Regions from separate parts of the Homo sapiens genome. Here regions 2 and 3 are each linked to region 1. The links are contacts of gene promoters, found by promoter capture Hi-C in human tissues and cell types (Jung and others, 2019). All regions are on one chromosome and are shown on one strand. The core of a region is centred on a gene start or on the middle of the fragment in contact, and the rest is flanking DNA. Distances in the headings are between cores, read along the strand shown. Region 1 holds the start of VPS35 (VPS35 retromer complex component). Region 2 overlaps ABCC12 (ATP binding cassette subfamily C member 12). Region 3 has its middle 90 kb from the start of LINC02134.

Region 1 (4,235 bases), core at 694-3,193:
TATCACGTTAATGAAAGAACTATTTTAAAAATGATGACATGGCATACATTGACAACTGAAGTAGAGAGAAATAAGGATGATGAGGGCATGACAACTTCAAAATATAATTTGAACACCAAACGGCTCTAACTTCATTTCCAATACATATCCCCAAGAATCCTCTGATGGAGCACACTGAACGTTTTGGCTTCATCTATTAGCAATACCTTTTCTTTCCACCTGGAGAATTTCTTTCCACCCTCTTTATAGTCTCAGTTCACGTTACTTCCTGTAGTCCTTCCCAAAATCCCCAGGCAAAACTATCCCTCCATGACCCCAAAGCACTGAGTTGACAATGTTAGTAAAGCAATCCACACACTGTATTACAGTTAAGTTCTACAAGCGTGTCTCCCCCAGTAGCCTCTTAAGTTCGACATTGGTACCCAGGGCCACAGTCCGTGACACTGAAGGCACACAAGATGTTTGATGAATTGAAGTGGATTCTGGAATTTTAGGGCTGGGAAGGGCCAAAGGGGCCGCCAACACTTGCTTTCGGATGCAAAAGTGCGACACCAAGAAGACTAAGCGAGCTGCCTAAATTATAGACAGTGACTGTGAAAGAACGAATACTCAAGTTTCCTTTCCCAATAAAATTCATGAGGACAAGACTGTGTGTCTGGCTGATTGCTCCCAACTGGTTCACCCAACAAAGAATCGGAGTGTGTAATACATCCTCAATTAAGTGTTTTCCATTACAAAACAATATAAATGTCAATCCATAAACGCTGGAAACACACAAATCCTAAAGTTAAATTTTGCGCCGGTCTTGTATCAATTCCCAATTATAAAAATCCTGAGAAACAGGCAAAATCACCTTGTACGGCAACACGTTATATGAAAATAGTATTTGTAAAACACTTAATCCTTTCTGGCATTAAGACATTTAAAGTGAAATCTGTTTCCAGGCTTACAGATTTACAGAAGCCTATCTACACAGAGTGAGTAAGGTAATTAAAGCGGACATACAGTATATACTCAAAAAATTTATTTACACAGTGCAGGCTATGTTAAACGCTAATAAAATGCAAGTGACAACTTGCCTTTGTGGGAACCAGACACAAAGATTCACATTTTGAGGAAGTTCAAGTTTACCGGCCAACAGCCACACCACGATTTGCTGCCGTCATAGACGGGCCCTAAGGAGAAGTACTGCTTCCAGCAAGTCAAATACTTGGATTTTATCAATGGCGAGACAAAAGAGGCAAGGTGCGCCCAATGCACAAATGCTAAAGTAAACAATCAGTCTCCTTTGCGACCGTCAGGATTAGAAGACAGCCTGAGTCCTTCCAGGAAATTCATGTAAGCAGGTCCCCAGAACTCGCTGACAAACACTGCAGCCGAAGGCGGGTATGAGGCCAAGAAAGGCCAAGGAATCACTGCGACCCCTCCAGGAGGGCGTGGGGACGGCCGAGCACAACTAGGCACAAAGGTAGAAACGCAACATCTGGGCGGGTCCCGGCGCCACCTCCGAGTCTCAGGGCCTCCACGCGCCCCGGGGGCCAGACGCTCAGACCTAGGACTACCGGTCCCCTCGTGGTAGGCAGGTGACCGATTCCACTTAAAGGAGGCCGCAGGCCTTCATGGACCCCAAAGCCTACATGCCAAGTCAACCCCACAGAGAGGCCGCCCCGTCTCTCAGCAACGGCCGCAGCCAAGAGCCGCCGCCCACCCCGGCCCGGATCAGCCTGCCCGCGGCCTTCCTCCTGCTGTCCCCTATCCCGCAGGCCAAATCGGGCTGGTCTTAATCCCGAACGGTCTGTGGGGCCCCTTCTCCACTCGCTGGAGTGCGGGGCGGTGGGAGAGAGCAGGGGCTACAAGGAGGGTCGACCCAGGTGCCACTGCCCCCTCAGCACTCACCATGGCGACTCCCCAGAGCCTGCAGCAAGCAGCACCCGCCCCGCGCGTAGCCTCCCGCGGTCATGTGACGCTGCGGCCCCTCCAAGCCCCGCCCTCTCTAGCCCCGCCCCCGGGCCCTACAGGCGGCTCATTGATTGGCCTACTTCTAGGAACCCGAGTCTCGCGTGCTTATTGGCCCTGTCACTTAACGCTAGATGGACGGACCTGAGCGCCAGCCAATCTCACCACAGCGTGCGAGAGTGGGCGGAGCAGTGCAGGGCAGTGGGGATCGCCCGGCGGCAGGCAGGAGACAACAGGAGGGAAAGGCAGTGTGTGATGAGTTTGTCAAGAAGGAATGGAAGGAGGGGGAGCCGACAAGTCCACGTTCACCGCATCTGCGTTGGCGATTGCGCTATTGATGCGCATGCGCAAAAGGAAGACCCTGATTGGTTTGTGGGACGGTCTCAACGTCCTGTCCTAACCAATCCAGATGCGCCGGGGGTGGGGCCTGGCTCTCACTGGCCGGTGCAGCCTTTGCGCGCGGGTTTCGTTGACCCGCGGCGTTCACGGGAATTGTTCGCTTTAGTGCCGGCGCCATGGGGTCGGAGCTGATCGGGCGCCTAGCCCCGCGCCTGGGCCTCGCCGAGCCCGACATGCTGAGGTGAGTTCGGCCGCGCAAGACCAGGGCTGGGCTTCCGCCTCGCGGCCCTGGGCCCTCAGGTGAGGCCCGCGCCCTTCCCAGGCGACGGGCGGCGGGGGAGTGACGGGGAGCGCTGGGGCCGGGCGGGGTTTAGGGCCTACTTCAAGAAAAACTTCTCGGCCGTGAGCTTGAATGAGATGGCAAGAAGGGCGATAGCAAACGGCGATGGCACACGTCCCTGGGAACAGCCAGCCCTGTCCGTGGGTAGAAAAATGAGCCAGGGAGAACTTTCCGTTCATTCCGCCAACGCCTACTGCAGTCGGGTTTATAGCGGGGAACCCGACAACGAGGCGCAGACCCCGCTGTCTGTAAGGGCGAGGACTGTGTAGACCTTAACCGGGCAATGCTCCTGAGCCACTGGGCTTGGGGTGGAGCGCGGCCTAGCGGCTGCCTTTAACACAAAGAAACAAACAAAACTCGGAAAAGCAGGCGCCGTTCCCGCTGAGGCCGGATTGATGGCAGATGCTAGGCGAGGAAAGATATGGCAAGAGCAGCCCAGGCAGGGGCGACAGCTCCTGTAAAAGCGTTGAGATGGGAAGCGGGATCCGGGGTTCGAAATAAAGCCATTGTAGCTAAAACGTGGAGCAGTCAGGCGAGGGAAGGCAAGGAAAACAGCACTTAAAAGATTTGAAGACAAACCTGCAGGACTCGGTAGTCATTTAGAACAGTGGTTCTCAAAATGTGGTTCCTGGACCAGCAACAGCCATATCATCTTGTCACTTGTTAGAAATACAAATTCTTGGGTCCCACCTCAAGCCTGCTGATCAGTAACTCGGCCTGGGACCCAGTAATTTGCAAGTCCCCAAGGTGATTTTCGCCTACCATCAAGTTTAAGAACTACTGATTTAAAGGAAATAGGAGGAAAGGAGGAACCCTGGTCTAACCTGCCTGTCTCTGATAGTTCGTGCTTGTTCCAGTAATGGAAGGAGGAAAGAAGGGTAATTTTTTTGTCAAAATTTAACTTCCTTTTGCCTGAAAGCATTTGAGCACAGTGATGTTTGGAGTCAGTGCTGGTTCTGTCTTCCTCTCACCAGAGGATATGACCTTCATTCCCAGCCCCAGATAAACGAGCCACAGGAGTTAGGCTTAGTGTGAAGCTAACCAGGCTGTATTCATTGTTTACCAACGTGTTGAGCAAACTTCTGAATAAGTTGTAGCGAACACACTGCCCTTTTAACCAGGAAAGCAGAGGAGTACTTGCGCCTGTCCCGGGTGAAGTGTGTCGGCCTCTCCGCACGCACCACGGAGACCAGCAGTGCAGTCATGTGCCTGGACCTTGCAGCTTCCTGGATGAAGTGCCCCTTGGACAGGGTAAGTAGGTCCCACCGAATGTCTGAATAATCCAGTGCAACATTGAAGCTCTTTTAACTTTTGGTTGAACTAAACCCTAGTAAAAACTCTTGTTTTAGAATTGTCCTGGGTATTCTTGTGTGTTATTCTGGAAATACTGTAGAATCATTTTGCATTGGAAAATATTTTTTTGCCATGTTTTCTTTACTCTTCACTGTTTTCCCTGACCACCTCTTTCTCGGCTAGAGGCCATCTTCCACATTGCTGCTAGCATTACCCTCCTTTTAAAGCACGTATTTCCAAACCCCTATGCTTTTCTTCCAATGTCACAGTGTTTGAGAGAACAAGCTTTGGGGTCAGTCAGGAGGAG
Region 2 (4,235 bases), core at 826-3,325, 1.4 Mb after region 1:
ATGCCCAATACATCCTTAAGTGTATGTGACTGAGGGGATGTGTGGTAAATACCTTTTGTGTCTACAAATTCTGAGCCTGTTTCAGATTCTTTTCCTTCATCTTTCTCATTTCCTGGAGCCAAAACTAGGGTGAGAAATAAAGAGAGATCTGTGTCCATTCAAGCCAAGGACAATAACAGGGATGGGATTCTAACCGATTATACCAGCATCTTCCTCTCTCTCAGCAGGGCTCTCCTTGAAGGCTTCCACCATTGCTGCATTGTAAAGGTGTTCAGGATCCTGGAGACAAAATGAAATTCCTTCTGAATGCTAAGTGACAGGACCTCTCCCAGGCACGAAATCCTGAGGGATTCCGCCCCAATTGTTCCCACACCTGCCCAGGTGTGAGTTACCTTGAACTGCAATCCTCGCAGGTTGTGAATCAGTTTTGCATAGCGCCCTCTCTCCTCCATTAACTCCTTGTGGGTTCCCTTTTCACAAATCTCTCCATCTTCTAATAAAATAACTTCATCACAAGACTCTAAGAACTGCAGAAGTAAGTGATCGACAATGAACTTCTGCCTGGAAAGGAGAGCCCATGCCAAACTCCTCTCCAACCTTAGTTACCACTGTTGACTTTAGGGGCCAGATCATTCTTTGTTTGAGGGGGCTGTCCTGTGCATTGTAGGATATTTACCACCCTCCCTGGCCTCTACCCCACTAGATGTCGGTAGCACCCCCTCCTGGAGGTGTGACAAGCAATGATGTCTCCAGACATTGCCAAGTGCCTCCTGGGGGCAGATTGGCCCCCAGCACAGAACCATTCATCTAGTACCCACAGGTCTCATGAGTCCAAAAAAAAGCCAGCCTTTGGCTCTCACAGTAAAGAACACTGAATCTTCCTTTGCTACTGCTCCTTAAATGAGCTGCCTTCCTAAGAAATCTGATCATGGCCAGGCGCAGTGGCTCACACCTGTAGTCCCGGCACTTTGGGAGGCTGAAGCGGGTGGATCACCTAAGGTCAGGAGTTCGAGACCCACCTGGCCAACATGGTGAAACCCCATCTCTACTAAAAATACAAAAAGTAGCTGGGTATGGTGGCGTGCACCTATAATCCAGCTACTCAGGAGGTTGAGGCAGGAGAATCGCTTGAACTCAGGAGGTGGAGGTTGCAGTGAGCCAAGAAGGTGCCACTGCACTCCAGCCTGGATGACAGAGCAAGACTCTGTCTCAAAAAAATTAAATAAATAAATCGAAATCTGATCATGGAGATTTGGAAAATAAAACTGACAGTCACAGCAGCCAGGACTTGGTAGGGAGGGGAAATATGATCTTCACGAAGGTCCTCCTGTGTTCTAAAATTACAAGCCTCCCTCATCATCCCCATTTAGCCCAGGAGAAGCAGACCACGGTGTGGTCTCCAGGCAAGAGGCCACATTCCCTGGCCTGAGGAATTTATGCCAGCTTTATCTATGAGATAAAAACACAGCTACATTTAATGCTGGCATCCCACATTTTGCCCAAAGCACTTCTGTTTTTTTTAATTTGAATTCCCTTCATTTCCATATCATTCCTGAGATCAAAGAGTTCTGCTAAGAGGGTTTTCCTTTCATTTTGGAATGAGACACAGAGCTCTCCCCCCAGGATCAAGGAAGCTCCCTCCTAGAGGTGGGCAAGATGCTGAGACTAAAGATGGTTTGACCGAAAGAAGCCTTTGCAGTATGGGCCAGAGGTCTTCCCTGATACTGCACGGTTCATCCAAGGTCAAATCAACCTCTGCTGCTCTTGATTACAAGCCTGAAAGAAGTAGCTGTGTTCGGTCATTGTACACTTGATTGGGCGAGTTGGGAGGGTGCCCAAAGGCTGAATGATAACAGTTCTAACAGCTTGGACAGCTCCAGCCCTCATGCCTCCCTCCCACTAACTGCCCAGCTCCCTGTCTTATCAGCTGATTTTTCAGATGGGGAAACTGAGACACCATAAGCCTGTTCCAGTCCCATAGCCACAGCACACGCTCCAGCTCCAGGAGCTCCCGGGGAAGCCCCCTCTGGTCAGCAAGCCCCCAGTTCACTCCAGAGATATGAGGCAGATTTGAGCAGCTTTGTTCTGCAAGCCGTCACCAAATCTGCACCTGGGTTGGATTTCAGTGGTTTCCTTAGAAGAGCGATCATCCACCCCAACCACTAAGATGCTTGCCTGTGGGCCTGGGAGTAAGAGCAGAGGGGATAGGCTCTGGAAAAGCCCCGGGCCGCAGTTCTGGGGCTCTAAGTTCCATTCTCCCTGACAAGGCACAGCAGGACCAAGATCTTGTGCCACCTGGTGGCTACCTGCCTCTTCCAACTTGCAAAAAGTTGGATAAAATGACACGGGAAGGTGGAATCTAAGGAGATGGACCTGGTGTGAAGATGGCTCCTGCCTGAGGTCATACTGCGGCTCAGTCAGTTTCAAAGACCGAACCAGGACCAAGGTTATGATTCCCCTCATGAGGACTCCTGGAGGGACAGCCATGACCCACATCTGTCAGGGATGAGGCATCCCCCTCCAGATCCCCAGAGCCCTTGGAGGACAGCCCTCCCTGCTGCAGGGTGTCTCCAGGGATATTCCAGGTGCAGAGCTAGGGCTGCCAGGTTTAGCATCCAGACTGGGCCAGAGCCCATTCTGTCACCTCATGAGGGTCTTGAAGAAATCCAACCTTGTCCTCCATCCTAACTCAGAAGAAGAACTAGGCCAGAAGAAGAACTAGGAGCTCTTGCCCACACCAGCCCAGCATGATGCTTCCTGGAGGTGCTCAGGCCCACTCAGAGGAAATCCAGACAATCCCCATGCGCAAAATTCGGATGCCTGGAGCTTATTCCGGGACCAGAACTCTAGCCCTGGGCAAAGGTGAGCTCAGGCTAGGGGCAGCATCACAGCAATGGGAAAGCTTGGTTTTACAGGGTCTTCGAGGAACACCCTCTTTAGGCTGGTCCTCCTGGCCACTACTGGAGGGTCCTAAAATGCTGGCTGCAGCATCCTATAGCCATGGCAACTTTATTTGCTGCTATTGCCCCTCCCTCTCCACCCCAGCTTGACTTACCTTTGCAAAGACCTGCTTCCTGCCCCCAGACCAGGCCCTTATGTAACATGTTCTCTGCAGGTAGCAGGAGAGTAAAGAAGACGGGACACTTGCTCTCCTGCTCCAATAGGCCTTTCAACATAAGTCAATCCCAAGGAATCTCTCGTCGGGCAAGGAGACACCCACGTGCACGCATGAACACACACGTGCACACACATGCACTGCCCCCCCTTCCCCCACACATCTCTGGGGATTCCCTACAAAGAAGAGAGAGGGAGATGGTCTGGAAGCAGGGAAACCTGGCCTGGGAGGAGGAGGTTCTTGGATTCCCATCAGGCAATCAGGACGCCTTATGTGAGACCAATGCAGTGAGGGCTGTTCCCACTCTGCCAAATTCTTAAATTCACTGAGGTCAAGCCCAGTCGCTTTCTTCAGTGAGATTCATGCTCCTTAGCCTGAGACAGTGGCCCTGAGCAGAGAGAGCTTCCCCAAAGCCTCAGCCTTAGTCCCAAAGTCCTGGCTTCAAGCCCCTTTCCCCTGGGGTGTGATACCTGGGGCATCTGGGCCCCTCATCCAAGAGGTCTACCACCCCCTGACACCCCCAGTCAAGGTATCCCTGGCCTCAGGCTTGCCCAGAATTGCTGGAGTAAGGGTGGGGCCGTCATTGTTTTCCCTGGCTCCCCATCTTACCAGGCGCCCAGAACTTGGGGAAGGGTGCCCCAATCCACCCACAGGCAGGACTCAATTGCTTCTAGAGAATCTACCCTCTGGTGCAGGAAAAGTCTTGGCCCCACTGAGGCCATGCATGGAGTGGAAGAGGTGGGCCTCCTGGGAGCCAGGAAGGCTGGGGAATCATGAGTGTCTCTTGCATCCCTGGCTCCCTCCCCACATTCCCAGCTGAAGACAGGCAGATATAGGCAGAAGAGGAGGCTCTGTGAGCATCAGATCCCCAGCCACACCCATCCCGTGACCTCCTGGATCCTGCATGTCCCATCACCTGTAGCTGGTGGGTCACCAGGACGACTGTCTTTCCCCTGAGCGTCTTCTTAATGCACTCCTCAAAGACGTGCTTCCCCACGTGGGCGTCCACGGCCGACAGGGGGTCGTCCAGCAGGTAGAGCTGACGGTCGGAGTAGACAGCGCGGGCCAGGCTAATCCTCTGCCTCTGCCCCCCAGAGAGGTTGAGGCCCCGCTCCCCAAT
Region 3 (4,235 bases), core at 966-3,465, 1.4 Mb after region 1:
CCAGATCAGGGCTGCCTGGCCACATGAGGAGAATCTAGTAGTGATAGTTCCAAGTTGTTTGTTTTTCTTCCAGCGTTGTCTACTCCCGGGGGAAGGCTGCAGACAGTGAATGCAGAAGTCCTGCCTGGATTCTGCCCTCACAAAAAGTGCACATCCTCTCCTGGAGCCTGAAGCGCCAAACTATGGGTGCCAGAGTCCAGGCCAAAATGGTGTGGCTTGAAGACCCTATTATTAATGCTGCTGATTTCAGTCCTATTTCCAATCAAGGAGGAATGGGCTTTTGTTTTGTATTTTTTTTTTTCAGATTGAAAAGCGCTAAACTGATAAGCAATGATGCATGGCCTTCATGGTCAATTGCCCACACTAGCAAAAAACGTTCAAGATAAGAACGACAAAAATAATAAGGAGAGTAACAATGCCACCATGACCTTTTAGCAAGATGGAGGAAATCACTCTTCAGCAGGGATTCATTTTTCTAGTTTTCTTGTTTTTTTAGCCACAGGAAATAAAGCGTGCACCCTACCCTTTAATTCACTGTTTCCCCCATTCATTTTCTATTTCCTGGTAAATTAAGTAGATGCAATTTATAGGCCTTTCTTATGTTCCCAGCTCCTGTGGACCCTGATTCTAAAAGCCTCTCTGCCCTATCCCTACTACTCCCTCCACATTTCTAACCCAGCTCTTCCAAAGAGAGTATATATAGGTACTGTGGAAGCAGAGTAAGATATCCTGCATATAGTAGGTGCTCAATAAGTGCTGAGAGGAATTAAATTGAAGCACTGACAGTTCTTTATCTGGGTCTTAGTCTCATGGAGAATTACAGAATCTGAGAAATGTGCTATCATACCTTGCCTCCTCAATCTAGTTTGTTCTCTTCCACTTTTGTTACCGGAGACTTGGAACTGAGAATGCAACACCCATCCATCCTTGGAAGCCTTCTCCAGAGACAAGCGCTCGTTCTCCCTGGGAACTGTGTAGGAGATGCAGCAGGGAGCCTAGCCCAGCCTGTGCCCGTCCTAGTAGCCTGCACCTGTCAACGCAAGGTCTACGGATCAAACGGAGGGGACTTTCTGATGGAGCCATCCTGGCAGGGCCACTGTGTAAGAAAGAAGTCACATACTTGCAAAATGAGGGTAGTGGCCAAGCGCACTCCCCAAATCCTCTGAAATAACAAAATTATTCATGAACTGAAATAATCACTGCTTTGTATCTTTCCGTTTTCCCTCTTCGTAAACAGCTCTGCTCTTGGTACTCCTGCCTAACCACAGCAGCCCCTAGTGGCAACAAGCTGGAACACGCAAGACTGTTCCGAAAATGTCTCCAGCCCTTCACCGGAGCCGAAAGCATCCCCCACCTCCGCCCTCCCCGCTCACCTTCATGGATCTGATTTTTATTTCTTAGGGGCTGAGGTTAGCCTCTTGGTTTTTCAGCACACACGAATGCACACAAGCGTATGCATATACTGACACTGCGTGGGGTGAGGCAAGACACGCCGGTCAACGGGCCCCTGGGGTGGGGAGAATGCAGGAGGGCTGGTAGGAGCTGGAGGAGCTCTCTTCACACCCCCAAGTCCTCTGGTCCAGGGTGCCCGTGAAACCAGGGCCCAGCTCTGACTCGATTTTTGTCGAGAAGAATCAGCCATCAAAGAGTGAGAGGTGGGATGCCTCACTCAGGGGTTCACCTCTCTGCTCCTATCACATCCCCAGAAGCAGCTGCCACTAGCCAAGGTGAGAAAATCATAATGGCACCCTTGAGAGAGAGCCCTTTATGAAGCAGCTAAATATCCTCTCTTTCCAGGGAATGACTTAACAAAACCTCAAATGACACGCTTGGATGTCAGCTGAAACAACTTTTCTCAAAAAAACCTAAATGCAAAAAAAAAGCTTATTTGAAACAACATCCAGAGGGAGTCCTTGTACACCTAAGCCCAGGTAATGGATTTACGCCCGGACTGCTTTCCCCCGCAGGGAATCTAGTCCCTCCACGATCTCACTTCCCAGAACCAAAGGCTAGTGGAGCACCAGGCCTATTTTGGAAGGGCTGGGAAGGGAGGGGAAAATGGATTTGTAGATGTCTAGTGAGTGCTGAGACTGCTGGGTGCTTCCTTCACCAACCTGAACTCACTTCAGACTCACACAGAAAAAAACATCACGTTAAGAATTCCTCTGGGAGGGAATTGACTCTTAAGAATAGAACTGTTTAACTCTTGATCCTGCCTTTAATTGACTCTGCAAATGTTTAAATGGATTCAAATACAACTGAAACGGAGTTGGGTGATTTTGACATCAATTAATATACTCCGATGAAGTTAGCAGAGGGGACTTTGAGTTAAGTGCAAGGAAAAAAGGGAGGGGGGTGGGAAATACGGCCCTTATACTTTCTGTTTTAAATTATGATAGAGCATACAGGGCTATTCCCCCAGGGCTTATTACAAAGACTCAGAAGATGTTAAATCCACTGGGAAAAGCCCAAAGCTCTGGCTCCTAAAGGGAAATGTGAGTTAGTCAATGCAGACACCGTAGATGATTTATTGGTTATTGTGTGTGTTTTTATGTGTGATATTGGGCTCTGTGCTGTGTGCCTCTCAGCTGTTTGAGGGACAGATGTCAGGAGGAGTAGTCCAGGCACTCACGGGTTAACTCAAGCCCTGATCCCAAGGGACCCAGGCATTTTAAGAGCAGAGCCTCCTCCAGTCATGGCCTGCCCTTACTTCTAAAACCTTGAATGTGAAAAAAGACTGTCCCCCTTCCATCTGATGCGGGTGGCTGAATGTTTTCTTCAGCCAAGTCCCAAAATGAGGCACACGTTAGCTGTTTCCACCCCCTCACCTTTCAGCAGCCTGCGTCCACTGAAACGGCTTTTGGGGAGCTCACTGGAGTCCTCTCCACATCCAGATTCCCTAGCCTCTTTCCCGGTGTCCTGTGGGGTCAGGACCCTGTCTGAGCTGCGGTCCTTGCTGAGCTCCTGAGACGTGGCTTCTGCTCAAGTCTCCTCTCCTCCTCGGCTCTTCCTCGAGCCCTTCCAGCCAATCCCCTGAAAGTGTTGATGCCCTTTCTGGTTTAGGACCACTCCTTATACCAAACCAGTGTTCACTTCCCCTTCATTCATCCTACGAGTATCTACTGAGAGCCTACCATCTACCAGGCATTCTTCCAGCACTGGGGATACAACCGTGAATTTAACAGACAAAAGTCTCTTTTCTTATGGCCTTAGAGTCTAGTGCCAGGGTTGGCAACACTTTTCTGTGAAGGACCAAATAGTAAATATTTCGGACTTACAGGCCATATGGTCTCCATGGTAACTACAGCTCTGTGGCTGCAGCTGTAAAGCAGCCATAGACAAAACATAAACAAATGGGCATGGCTGTGTTCCAATAAAACTTTATTTACAAAAAAAAAAAAAAAAAACAAGTTGTAGGAAGGCGGAGGGCTTTGGCCTGCTGGGAAAGACATGTTCTCTTTCTGCTGAGATTTTTCTTTTTCTTCTTCTTCTTCTTCTTTTTTTTTTTTTTTTTTTTTTTTTTTTGAGACTGAGTCTTGCTCTGTCGCCCAGACTCCAGTACGGTGGCACGATCTTGGCTCACTGCAGCCTCCGCCTCCCGGGTTCAAGGGATTCTTCCGCCTCAGCCTCCTGAGTAGCTGGGATTACAGGTGTGTGCCACCACGCCCAGCTAATTTTTGTATTTTTAGTAGAGACGGGGTTTCACCATGTTTGGCCGGGCTGGTCTCAAACTCCTGGTCTCAACTGATCCACCCGCCTCGGACTCCCACAGTGCTGGGATTATAGGCGTAAGCCACCCGTGCTTGGCCTCTGCTGAGATTTCTAAACTGACAGAATGAAGCTCAGGGGCCATCTTTGCTGCGACACAGGGAGAAGGTGCCTGAGAATTAAGCCATCCTGGGAAGGCAGAGTGGAGAATCCTCATGGCATTCATGACATTTTTTTTTTTTTTTTTTTTTGAGACGGAGTCTCGCTCTGTCACCCAGCCTAGAGTGCAGTGGCGCAATCTCGGCTCACGGCAAGCTCCGCCTCCTGGGTTCAGGCCATTCTCCTGCCTCAGCCTCCCGAGTAGCTGGGACTACAGGCGCCCGGCGCCACGCCCGGCTAGTTTTTTGTATTTTTACTGGATACGGGGTTTCACCGTGTTAGCCAGGATGGTCTCGATCTCCTGACCTCGTGATCCGCCCGCCTCGACCTCCCAAAGTGCTGGGATTACAGGCGTGATCCACCGCGCC

What was found. The method cuts DNA at HindIII sites, captures the fragments that hold promoters and counts their contacts. A contact is called where the count stands out against the background at its distance.
Region 2: a contact is called between a fragment that was not itself captured here and the fragment with the promoter of VPS35 in region 1, in 1 of the 25 tissues and cell types used here (lymphoblastoid cells).
Region 3: a contact is called between a fragment that was not itself captured here and the fragment with the promoter of VPS35 in region 1, in 1 of the 25 tissues and cell types used here (lymphoblastoid cells).

Annotation. Positions count from the first base shown.
Region 1 is chr16:46,687,235-46,691,469 of GRCh38, forward strand. It overlaps VPS35 (VPS35 retromer complex component), which reads right to left and starts at 1,944. Exons shown (of 17, transcript NM_018206.6): 1 at 1,897-1,944. The coding sequence starts at 1,899. ORC6 (origin recognition complex subunit 6) reads left to right here and starts at 2,425. Exons shown (of 7, transcript NM_014321.4): 1 at 2,425-2,536; 2 at 3,757-3,886. The coding sequence starts at 2,472. RefSeq lists enhancers at 1,415-2,112, 2,113-2,811, 3,049-3,128, 3,179-3,248 and silencers at 1,649-1,698, 1,849-2,088, 2,409-2,708. The HindIII fragment of the contact is 11,418 bases long and covers 1-4,235 here.
Region 2 is chr16:48,111,384-48,115,618 of GRCh38, forward strand. It overlaps ABCC12 (ATP binding cassette subfamily C member 12), which reads right to left. Exons shown (of 31, transcript NM_001393797.1): 15 at 4,032-4,235; 16 at 393-527; 17 at 195-279; 18 at 53-124. Among named protein-coding and RNA genes, the nearest start is that of ABCC12, 42 kb to the right of the region's middle. The HindIII fragment of the contact is 3,050 bases long and covers 551-3,600 here.
Region 3 is chr16:48,053,931-48,058,165 of GRCh38, forward strand. No RefSeq gene overlaps it. Among named protein-coding and RNA genes, the nearest start is that of LINC02134, 90 kb to the left of the region's middle. The HindIII fragment of the contact is 6,796 bases long and covers 1-4,235 here.